Linked DNA regions of Homo sapiens: all the other regions are linked to region 1. Evidence: promoter capture Hi-C in human tissues and cell types (Jung and others, 2019). All regions are on one chromosome and are shown on one strand. The core of a region is centred on a gene start or on the middle of the fragment in contact, and the rest is flanking DNA. Distances in the headings are between cores, read along the strand shown. Region 1 holds the start of S100B (S100 calcium binding protein B). Region 2 overlaps PCNT (pericentrin). Region 3 overlaps PCNT (pericentrin).

What was found. Contacts are between HindIII fragments. The study calls those that stand out against the background at their distance.
Region 2: a contact is called between a fragment that was not itself captured here and the fragment with the promoter of S100B in region 1, in 2 of the 25 tissues and cell types used here (dorsolateral prefrontal cortex and mesenchymal stem cells).
Region 3: a contact is called between a fragment that was not itself captured here and the fragment with the promoter of S100B in region 1, in 2 of the 25 tissues and cell types used here (dorsolateral prefrontal cortex and lymphoblastoid cells).

What each region holds. Positions count from the first base shown.
Region 1 is chr21:46,603,537-46,606,535 of GRCh38, forward strand. It overlaps S100B (S100 calcium binding protein B), which reads right to left and starts at 1,546. Exons shown (of 3, transcript NM_006272.3): 1 at 1,477-1,546. RefSeq lists an enhancer at 2,584-2,999. The HindIII fragment of the contact is 5,448 bases long and covers 1-2,999 here.
Region 2 is chr21:46,387,564-46,390,562 of GRCh38, forward strand. It overlaps PCNT (pericentrin), which reads left to right. Exons shown (of 47, transcript NM_006031.6): 18 at 1,179-1,321; 19 at 1,636-1,868. Among named protein-coding and RNA genes, the nearest start is that of PCNT, 65 kb to the left of the region's middle. The HindIII fragment of the contact is 3,209 bases long and covers 1-2,999 here.
Region 3 is chr21:46,404,083-46,407,081 of GRCh38, forward strand. The region is part of intron 27 of PCNT (pericentrin); the gene reads left to right. Among named protein-coding and RNA genes, the nearest start is that of DIP2A, 53 kb to the right of the region's middle. RefSeq lists an enhancer at 1-384. The HindIII fragment of the contact is 7,053 bases long and covers 1-2,999 here.

The DNA of each region.
Region 1 (2,999 bases), core at 296-2,795:
TTGCCTTGTCAGTTGTTTCACAAAACAGATGCGCAGTCAGAGAAATTTACCAGCTTTTGGCCTTGAGTTCTAATCATTAAATAAGAACGTTTGCGCTGTCATAATTAAAAACAAATTAATAAATCAAATAGTGTTGAAAAATCATTCCCATGTTGAATATATAACTTACATCTTAAAAATAATTTGGAATTATTTTATTTATTTCTGATCCTCCGAAGGAAACAGGATTGAAGATTTTTTTATACTGGCCAGATCTTTGCTAAAGTCATTCTATTAATAATCAGTGTACTTTATTTTGCTCTTGAGTCCCTAAAAATTTGATAATTCACAAATAGAACAATTAAGATGGATTAAAATCTTTAACATTTCATGCTTTCTTATTCTTTGCACTCAAGTTTTCAATTATTGATATATGCATGTTTGTATGTGTGTGTATTTTTTTAAACAAAACAAGACACTTTTACATCATTCTGATGCTCCTCAAAGTCCATGATGATTTGGGGAAAAGGAGGTTAAATTGTTTTTCTATGAATTGTGACTAATGGGATTATTACAAAGGAAAGGCATAAAACATGTATCCCATATATTAGAACACTAATAGAAACCACTAGAAAATATGGTTTTCTTCATAACCACACTACAAATCAATTAAATTCTTGTTAAATTTTTCCCTTTGACCTAAGAAATAGTTGATGGTTTATAGTTTATCTTTTAAGAGAAATGGAAATAAATGTCCGTTTCTTTCTCACATTCTTTGAATGTCCTACATTAATCTTTTAATATTGAGAACAAGAGAACTTTTGAACTTTAACTCCTTAGAAAGACAAGTTACCTAGCGTGTGAGGATCCCTCTAAAGAAGGGGTTCGACCTCCCTGAGAAACTGTGAGACTGAGGAAAGTTAAAACCCACCAAAACCCCGATTTCTTTGACCCAATTTATTTGTAATTGTTACGTAATTTCTGAGTGGCGTCCTGGGGCTGTGGGGACCCTGGCACTTCAAACTGAGGGAAACTGGAAAACTGAAGAGTTACTTACCCAGGGCGGTGGAAGAAATATAAGGAGAAAAGGGAAGCATTTATTTATGATATAGGACTAAACTAGCATTAGGTTCTCCATCATTTTTAGCCCCAGTGGGAAGCAAAATCTTTACTCTTCAAATAGTTACAGAAGAGGCAGTATTTGTAGTACCGCTGGGAAAATGTCAACAATCACTTCTGGGCCATGAAACCTGACGTTTCTCTGATTTATGGCAAAACACACCTCTAGCTGTCTAGGGCTGATGCAGTCAGGTGTCCACAAAGCAGCAGTAATGTGGAGATTAAAACACATCATCCTATTGACACTTCTGAAATGCTGCCAATTGTCCTAAAGGGGCTTTTTAAGCTACCACTTAGTTTCTACCCCTCCATTCCGTTCCACCCAAAAGAAAAGAACCATTTCTTCCTGAGCGTCCTCTTGGCCTGGCTCTTTCTCACCTCTTCCTTGTCTCACCCCTTCCTGGTCTCCTTGCTGCAGGCGTCGTCTCTGCTGCGGGTCCTGGGCGGCAGGACTGGTGGGCAGAGGCAGCCTCTTATTCCCTCTGCCCAGGGAGGATGGATGAACCCTGGTGCAGCCCACTGCAGGCCGTGGCAGCCAATGGGAGCCGAAGGCGGGGGTGGCAGGGCTGCCAGGCCTGCACACAGGGCTGCATTGACCAAGCAGCCCCGGGGACTTGCTGGGAGCCAGGATTGCACATGGGCTGAGGAAGAAAAAAGGGCCTGTAGGGCAGGAAGTGGGGAGTCAGCTTTTTGTGCGATTTCTTTATTACATGAATATTGATGTCACCCTAAAGGCAAGGTTGGGGGTGGGGAGAGGAGAGAGACTTGGATTAATTGATTCAAACAAAGCAAATGTGCAGCCAAGAACAAGCAGCTTCCAAGTACAGGCTGAGCATAGGAGATTAAGTGGCCTGCAAGTTGGTTTCTAATGGAGAGGCCCCTGGAGCTTCTCTCCTCTGCCATCCTCCAAGTCTGGCCCCACTGGGCGTGAAGTTCTGTGGACAGTAGTGCTTGTCTGTGGTCAGCCCTGGGCTCAACGGGGCTGCCTCAGAGAAGCTGCTGAGGCCAGTGTCTGCAGGGACTAAAACGGGTGGTACTTTTAGGGGAAAACGTGATGTGTGGACTGTATCCCAAGGCCTTTCCCTCCACCCCAGGGTGGAAGGTCACAGACTCTCAGAGTTGGACGATGCCTTAGAGATGTCCCGTTCGAACGCTGTTTTACAGAGGCGTGTGGACGGTGTGCCCCCTTGCTGAAGCCTCCAGCCAGCCTGAGGAAGGAGAAGTCCAGCTGTCCCCTCAACTCGCTCGACTGGAGCCTCTGAACACGGGGGCCAGTTTATGGGTTCTTCTTCACAAGAATGAAGAAGTAGGTGTTCCTTCTGACAAATTACACAAGAACATTGGCCCAAACTCTCCAAAAATGTCCATGGTCCCCAATGGATGCCTGACCCAGCATCACGTCCTTCTCCCAACCCAGTTTCAAAGTGGCCGTGAAAGGGTTTCCCACAAGATATCTGTGTACATGGCTGTCTTGCTGTCATTGTTTTATCCAGGACGTTCTCTACCATTCAGGATCTGTAAGTGTGCCCTGGAAATAGCACAGGGCTGAGAGCTGTGGTCTTGCGTGGCTCAGCCTGCCCCAGCCTCCTGTGAGGAACAGCCTGAGCAGTGTGGTTGGCCCTCACTTCCTCATCGGCTTCACCACCCCTGGCTGTGGTCTCTGCTGAAGGATCTGACACAGGCTTGCTCTGTGAAGCACAGAGCTTGCCCAGGCCCAAGGAAGGCACAACTGTGCTCTGTGCCCCTTCCTCGCTCAGATGTTGGAGGGACCATTCCTGTAAGTGCTGACCACTTCCCCAGAGTGGCAGCCTGAGCTCTGGATTAACCCTTCAGTGTCCATAGAAAACGCTCTAGCCTGCTCCTGCAGGGGTTAAAAATAGTTTGAAATCCACTCATGCAAT
Region 2 (2,999 bases), core at 353-2,852, 220 kb before region 1:
AGTTGGGCATTTTGGGGGGTGGAAGTGTGCTGGGGAGCAGGTGGCATTCTCTCCGTCAAGCCCCTCCTCAGGACTCCCCCTCCCTGTTATTTGCCCAGAATCTTCGGTTTCGCGGGGCCTGCACGACACTGCCTCCCGTTGTCACCTCACGGTCCCCACGAATGAGTCCTCATCGTCTGCTCCTCAGGGTTGGGCTCTCTGGGGACAGAGCTGTGAGCAGAGTAGAGGGAGGGCTGGCTGTGTAGTCACTGGGTCAACGTGCCTGTCCTCAGCGGCGTCACAGCTCCTAAATCATAGTGCAGGGAGCGAGATGTGGAGGGGCCTGTGGCCTCGGGAGCCCCTGTGTGTAAAAACAGAAGCATCCCAGCCGGGCGCAGTGGCTCACGCTTGTAATCCCAGCACTTTGGGAGGCTGAGGCGGGTGGATCATGAGGTCAGGAGATCGAGACCATCCTGGCTAACATGGTGAAACCCCATCTCTACTAAAAATACAAAAAATTAGCCGGGCGTGGTGACAGACGCCTGTAGTCCCAGCTACTCGGGAGGCTGAGGCAGGAGAAAGGCGTGAACCCGGGAGGTGGAGCTTGCAGTGAGCCAAGATCGTGCCACTGCACTCCAGCCTGGGCGACAGAGCGAGACTCCATCTCAAAAAAAAAAAAAGACAGAAGCATCCCAGACCGCACGTCCACGAGGCCTAGCGAGAGGCTGGGAGACACCATCCTCTTCCTGCCACACAACTCCTGTGAATGTGTGGCTGAGGCGTGACTTGGTGTTGGACAGACATCTTGTGAAATGGCTGGCTGGTGCACCCTGTGCTCCAGGGGAGGGGCGGAGCCTGTGTGCTGCTCCCGGGTGATTGACGCTGTGCGGCCACATCGCACACCTGCGGGACGGGTTTGCCGTGTTCCTAATGTGATGCCTTTTACACATCAGAAATGGCATCAGGAAGACCTCACCTAGGAAAGCCCGTGTCCCTGAGTGGGCTCCACGTGGTTGTCTTGTCTGTGGCCTCAGCTTCCTGTGCTCACATGGGCATGAGGATCATGTCTTCCGGCCCCGTGGGGACAGGCAGCCGTGGGCCGAGGTGTGCAAACTGGTGGGCGGCCCCTCAGCAGCATCCAGGGTGGGGGTTCTTATGCCGTGACCAGCTTGCCTGATGATGGGTGTCTCCTGTCTCAGAGGGGCCCTCCAGGACGCCCTGCGCAGGCTGCTGGGTTTGTTTGGAGAGACGCTGAGGGCAGCCGTCACCCTGAGGAGCCGGATCGGGGAGCGCGTGGGGCTCTGCCTGGATGACGCGGGCGCAGGCCTGGCCCTGTCGACAGGTGAGTGTGCCGGGACCAGCTGCCCAGCCCTGTGCTTGCAGCCCCTCTGTGGTCCTGGAGCTCTCTGAGAGGAGCCTCCGTATTGGGCGATGCCCTTGGGAGCACTGCCGTCCTGGTTTCCTGCTAGTTTCCGCACTTACAGAAGGCCGAGACCGGGGTTTGGGCTAAATTTGTCAGCTCCCGTGGACGTGGCGCTGACTCATCTCGGCTGGGGCGACGTTCTGAGTTCTGTGGCTTCCTTGTCGTCTTGGCTGCCATGGCCGCGGCCGGCTTGCTCACTGAGCCGCGTGTGCCGGCATCTGCTCATCTTGTAGCTCCGGCGCTGGAGGAGACATGGTCTGATGTGGCCCTCCCGGAGTTGGACAGAACTTTGTCTGAATGTGCAGAGATGTCTTCCGTGGCTGAAATTAGCAGCCACATGCGTGAAAGCTTTCTCATGAGCCCAGAAAGTGTGCGGGAGTGTGAGCAGCCCATCCGGAGGGTCTTCCAGAGCCTCAGCCTGGCCGTGGACGGCCTCATGGAGATGGCCCTGGACTCCAGCAGGCAGGTGAGGCCCAGGCTCCCGGGGTCCTGTGGAGATGTGAACAACTGAGTAGCTGATGATGCCACACGAGCCTGGTGGATGCCGGTGCCAACGACGCTCGCACGGGTTTCTCCCCAAGGAGGAGGCTTTTCTGAACCAGATCTTTGAGGAAGTGGGCTTGCTACGAATGAGAGAATCTGTTTGTTTAATTTGGATAATAAACAGGCCCATTTTCTTTACTTCATGCACTGTTGCAATTCCATGTGGAGTGTTTTCATATTTAGAGATTATCACTAAGAAAGGAAATTTTTTGTAACCGTTTTAGAACATTTTAGACAATTAAAAAAGACATTAAGTAGGAATACACGGAAAGCAATCAAAGATCTTTTTTTCAGCCAGGCACAGCGGCTCACTCCTGCAGTCCCAGCACTTTGGGAGGCTAAGGTAGGAGGTTCACTTCAGCCTACTTCAGCCCACGAGCTCATCTTGTAGCTCTGGCGCTGGAGGAGATGTGGTCTGATGTGGCCCTCCCGGAGTTGGACAGAACTTTGTCTGAATGTGCAGAGATGTCTTCCGTGGCTGAAATTAGCAGCCACATGTGTGAAAGCTTTCTCATGAGCCCAGAAAGTGTACGGGAGTGTGAGCAACCCATCCGGAGGGTCTTCCAGAGCCTCAGCCTGGCCGTGGACGGCCTCATGGAGATGGCCCTGGACTCCAGCAGCCAGCCTGGGCAACATAGCGAGACCTCATTTTAAGTTAGCCAGGCGTGGTGGCATGCGTCTGCGGTCCCAGCTCCTCAGGAGGCTGAGGCAGGAGGATTGCTTGATCCTGGGAGGCTGAGGCTGCCGTGAGTTGTGGTTGCACCACTGCACTCCAGCCTGGGTGCAGAGCAAGACCCTATCTCAAAAATGAAAATAAAAATTCTTTTTTGCTAAGTTTTGAGTTCAGAGGTAACTCTGGGTCTCAGCCTGTAGATGGCCTGGGAGCCCCAGACTGGACACAGTTGCCAGGGGAGTGTCTGGAGGAAGGGAGAGGGGCCCAGGGCTGAACTGGGAGGCTGAGGAGGGGTCCTCATTGGAGACTGTGGCCACAGTGTCTCGGAGGGTGGCTGAGATGTGCTCAGGTCCCGTCACCCTGGCCTGGCCCTGCCTGGGT
Region 3 (2,999 bases), core at 221-2,720, 200 kb before region 1:
GTGTGTGGTGCCCACGCGGCGCGTGCTCGGTGAATGAACATAGCGTGGGAGAATTGTGTGTGTGTGGTGCCCACGTGGCGCGTGCTCGGTGAATGAACACAGCGTGGGAATGCTCCCTGAGTGAACACAGCGTGGGAGAGTCTCAAAAAACAACAACAATAACAACAAAAAAAATTTTCAAATTGATTTTCCATTTTTCCAATTTAAAACTGTAGGCTTATTTAATTAGGACATTTCATATCTGTAGGGTCAGTGGAATATTTCCCTATTAAGGTTCTGTCGGCTCTGTTTTGATATGGTTGTTGTTATTACCATTTCCACCGGCATTTCTGCCCAACAAAGAAGAGGAGATAGTGCGTGTGAACGAGCAGCTCTAGGCACCGCAGGTTTACCTCGGCGAGGTACGCCACTCCCTGGTGCTGGGGGAGAAGGGGCTCTTCTCACGCTTCTGGCTACGCCTGCGTCTCCTGTACGAAGTCCTCATAGTTTCTGGGTGTGATTGACTGGGGCCTTGGCTTTCCAGGATGACAGTCTTCTGTTTCCTCATACAATATTTATAATACTTTTCAAAATTAATTTTATCAGTTGGGCACGGTGGCTCAAACGCCTGTATTCTCAGCACTTTGGGAGACTGAGGAGGGTGGGTTACTTGAGCTCAGGAGTTCGAGACCAGCCTAAACAACATGGGAAAACCCCATCTCTACTAAAAATACAAAAATTAGCCAGGCATGGTGACACACCACTCCGGAGACTGAGGCAGGAGAATCACTTGAACCCAGGAGATGGAGGATGCAGTGAGCTGTGATTGTGCCACTGCACTCCAGCCTGGGCAACAAAGCAAGACCCTGTCTCAAAAACAAAATTAACTTTATGGCCGGGCACAGTGGCTCTCACACCTGTAATCCCAGGAGTTTGGGAACCTGAGGTGGGAGGATCGTTTGAGCCCAGGAATTCGAGATCAGCCTGGACAACGTAATGAGACCCATCTCTACAAATTTTTTTAAAAAATTTAGCCAGGCATACACCTATAGTACCAGCTACTCTGAAGGATGAGATAGGAAGATCACTTGAGCCTGGGAGGCCAAGGCCACAGTGAGCTGTGATCATGCCACTGTAATCCAGCTGTAATGACAGAACAGGACCCTGCCTAAAAAAAAATAATTTTGGAGGGGACCATAGAAGTAAGGAGAAGTTTGTCTCCAGTTTGTCACTTTTAATTTCCCTTTGACAGAGGCTACTGAGATGTTATCTGTCTTAGTATCTGATTGTATCTTGTATATTTGGCAAAAATTTAAAAATAGCCTTTTGGGTTACATTGAAGAATGCCTTTTATGGCCAGGAGCGGTGGCTCACGCCTGTAATCCCAGCACTTTGGGAGGCCCAGGCGGGCAGATCACTTGAGCTCAGGAGTTCGAGACCAGCCTGGCCAACATGGTGAAACCCCGTCTCTACTAAAAACACAAAAGTTAGCTGGGCCTGGTGGCCGGTGCCTCTAATGGTTACTTGGGAGGCTGAGGCAGAAGAATCACTTGAACCCAGAAGGTGGAGGTTGGCAGTGAGCCGAGATTGCGCCACTGCACTGCAGCCTGGGCGACAGAGCAAGACTCGTCTCAAAAAAAAAAGAATGCCTTTAAAAACCATTGATTACTTTTCAGAAGAAGTTGTATTATTTGTCTATAGTGCTCTAGAACTTGACCTCTAACTATAATCTTATATAATGAAAAATATATAAAAAATAGTTTACATGTTAAGGACAGTATTTTTGTTCCATTAAGAATTGAAAGCTTTTTAAGGACAATCCCCAATATTTTCTTGTGGGATTTTTCTTACAGATATGTGCAAATTCGTACATCCTTCATTTTCTGTAATTCTCCTAATTTTTTGTAAAGATGCGGATGCTATTTTGCTTTATATAATAAAGAAAAGTAAAATTCCATTTAAAGGTTTGACTCTTGTTAGGTTTCCAGTTATTTCAAGGAAACCACATTTGCTGTATTCTACCCTATTTTATGTCAGTGAAGATGTTTGTCTTCTAGAAGCGTCTTTTACACTTGTGGGGAAACGGAGCTCCCGTCTCCCTGGCGTGGTCGTGGTTGTTGTCACTTGTTCTGTACTGCCGTCCTCCGGGGCTCCAGCCATCCTAACACCTCATCCTCAATGTGGGCCCTCCCTCCCTGTGTGGCTTATTCTAACTCTGGGGTTAGTGATGTTTCTTTAATTTTACCATTTACTTCTCCCTTATTCTACAGGTTTTAATAAAGAGGTCTCACGTCTTTTGTTAAATTTATCCTTAAATATTTTAGGTTTTTTGCACTATTGTAAGTGAGATTTAAAATAATTATCTAGTTGTTTACCGTGAATACACATACACCTTTTGTATGTTAACCTTGCTGTTACCTTGCACAATTTATGTATATTAGTAGCGTTTTGTGGATTCCTGAAGGCTTTTTATGTATAAGATAACATCATCTTCAGATAAAGACAGTTTTATTTCTTTCCAATTTTTGTTATTTCCTTCTTTTATTACAATGTCTAGCACTCCCAGTACAAAGTTAAAACTGGCTAGGGCAGTCATCTTTGCCCAGCTCCTTGTCTTACAGGGAAGTGGTCAGTGTTTTGCCATTAAGTATATTAGCTTTAGGTTTTTCACAGGTGCCTTTTTATCAGATCAAGGAAGTTCTGTTATATTTCTAGTTTGCTTTTTCTGGATCTATTGAAATAGTGATGATATTTTTCTCTTTTATTCTACTAATAAGGTTAACTTTATTGAGTGATTTATTTCTTGGAGATTAAACTAACCTTGCGGTTCTAGGATAAACCATACCTGGTAGTGATGTACTGCCCTTTTCATATGTTACAGATATTACTGAATTTGATTTGCTAATATTTTGTTAATGGTTTTTGCATCTGTGTTCATGAGGGATGTTGGTGCATAATTGTCTTTTCTTGCAGTGTTCCCTAAGGCTTTGTATGAAGGTTATGTTAGTCTCATAAAATAG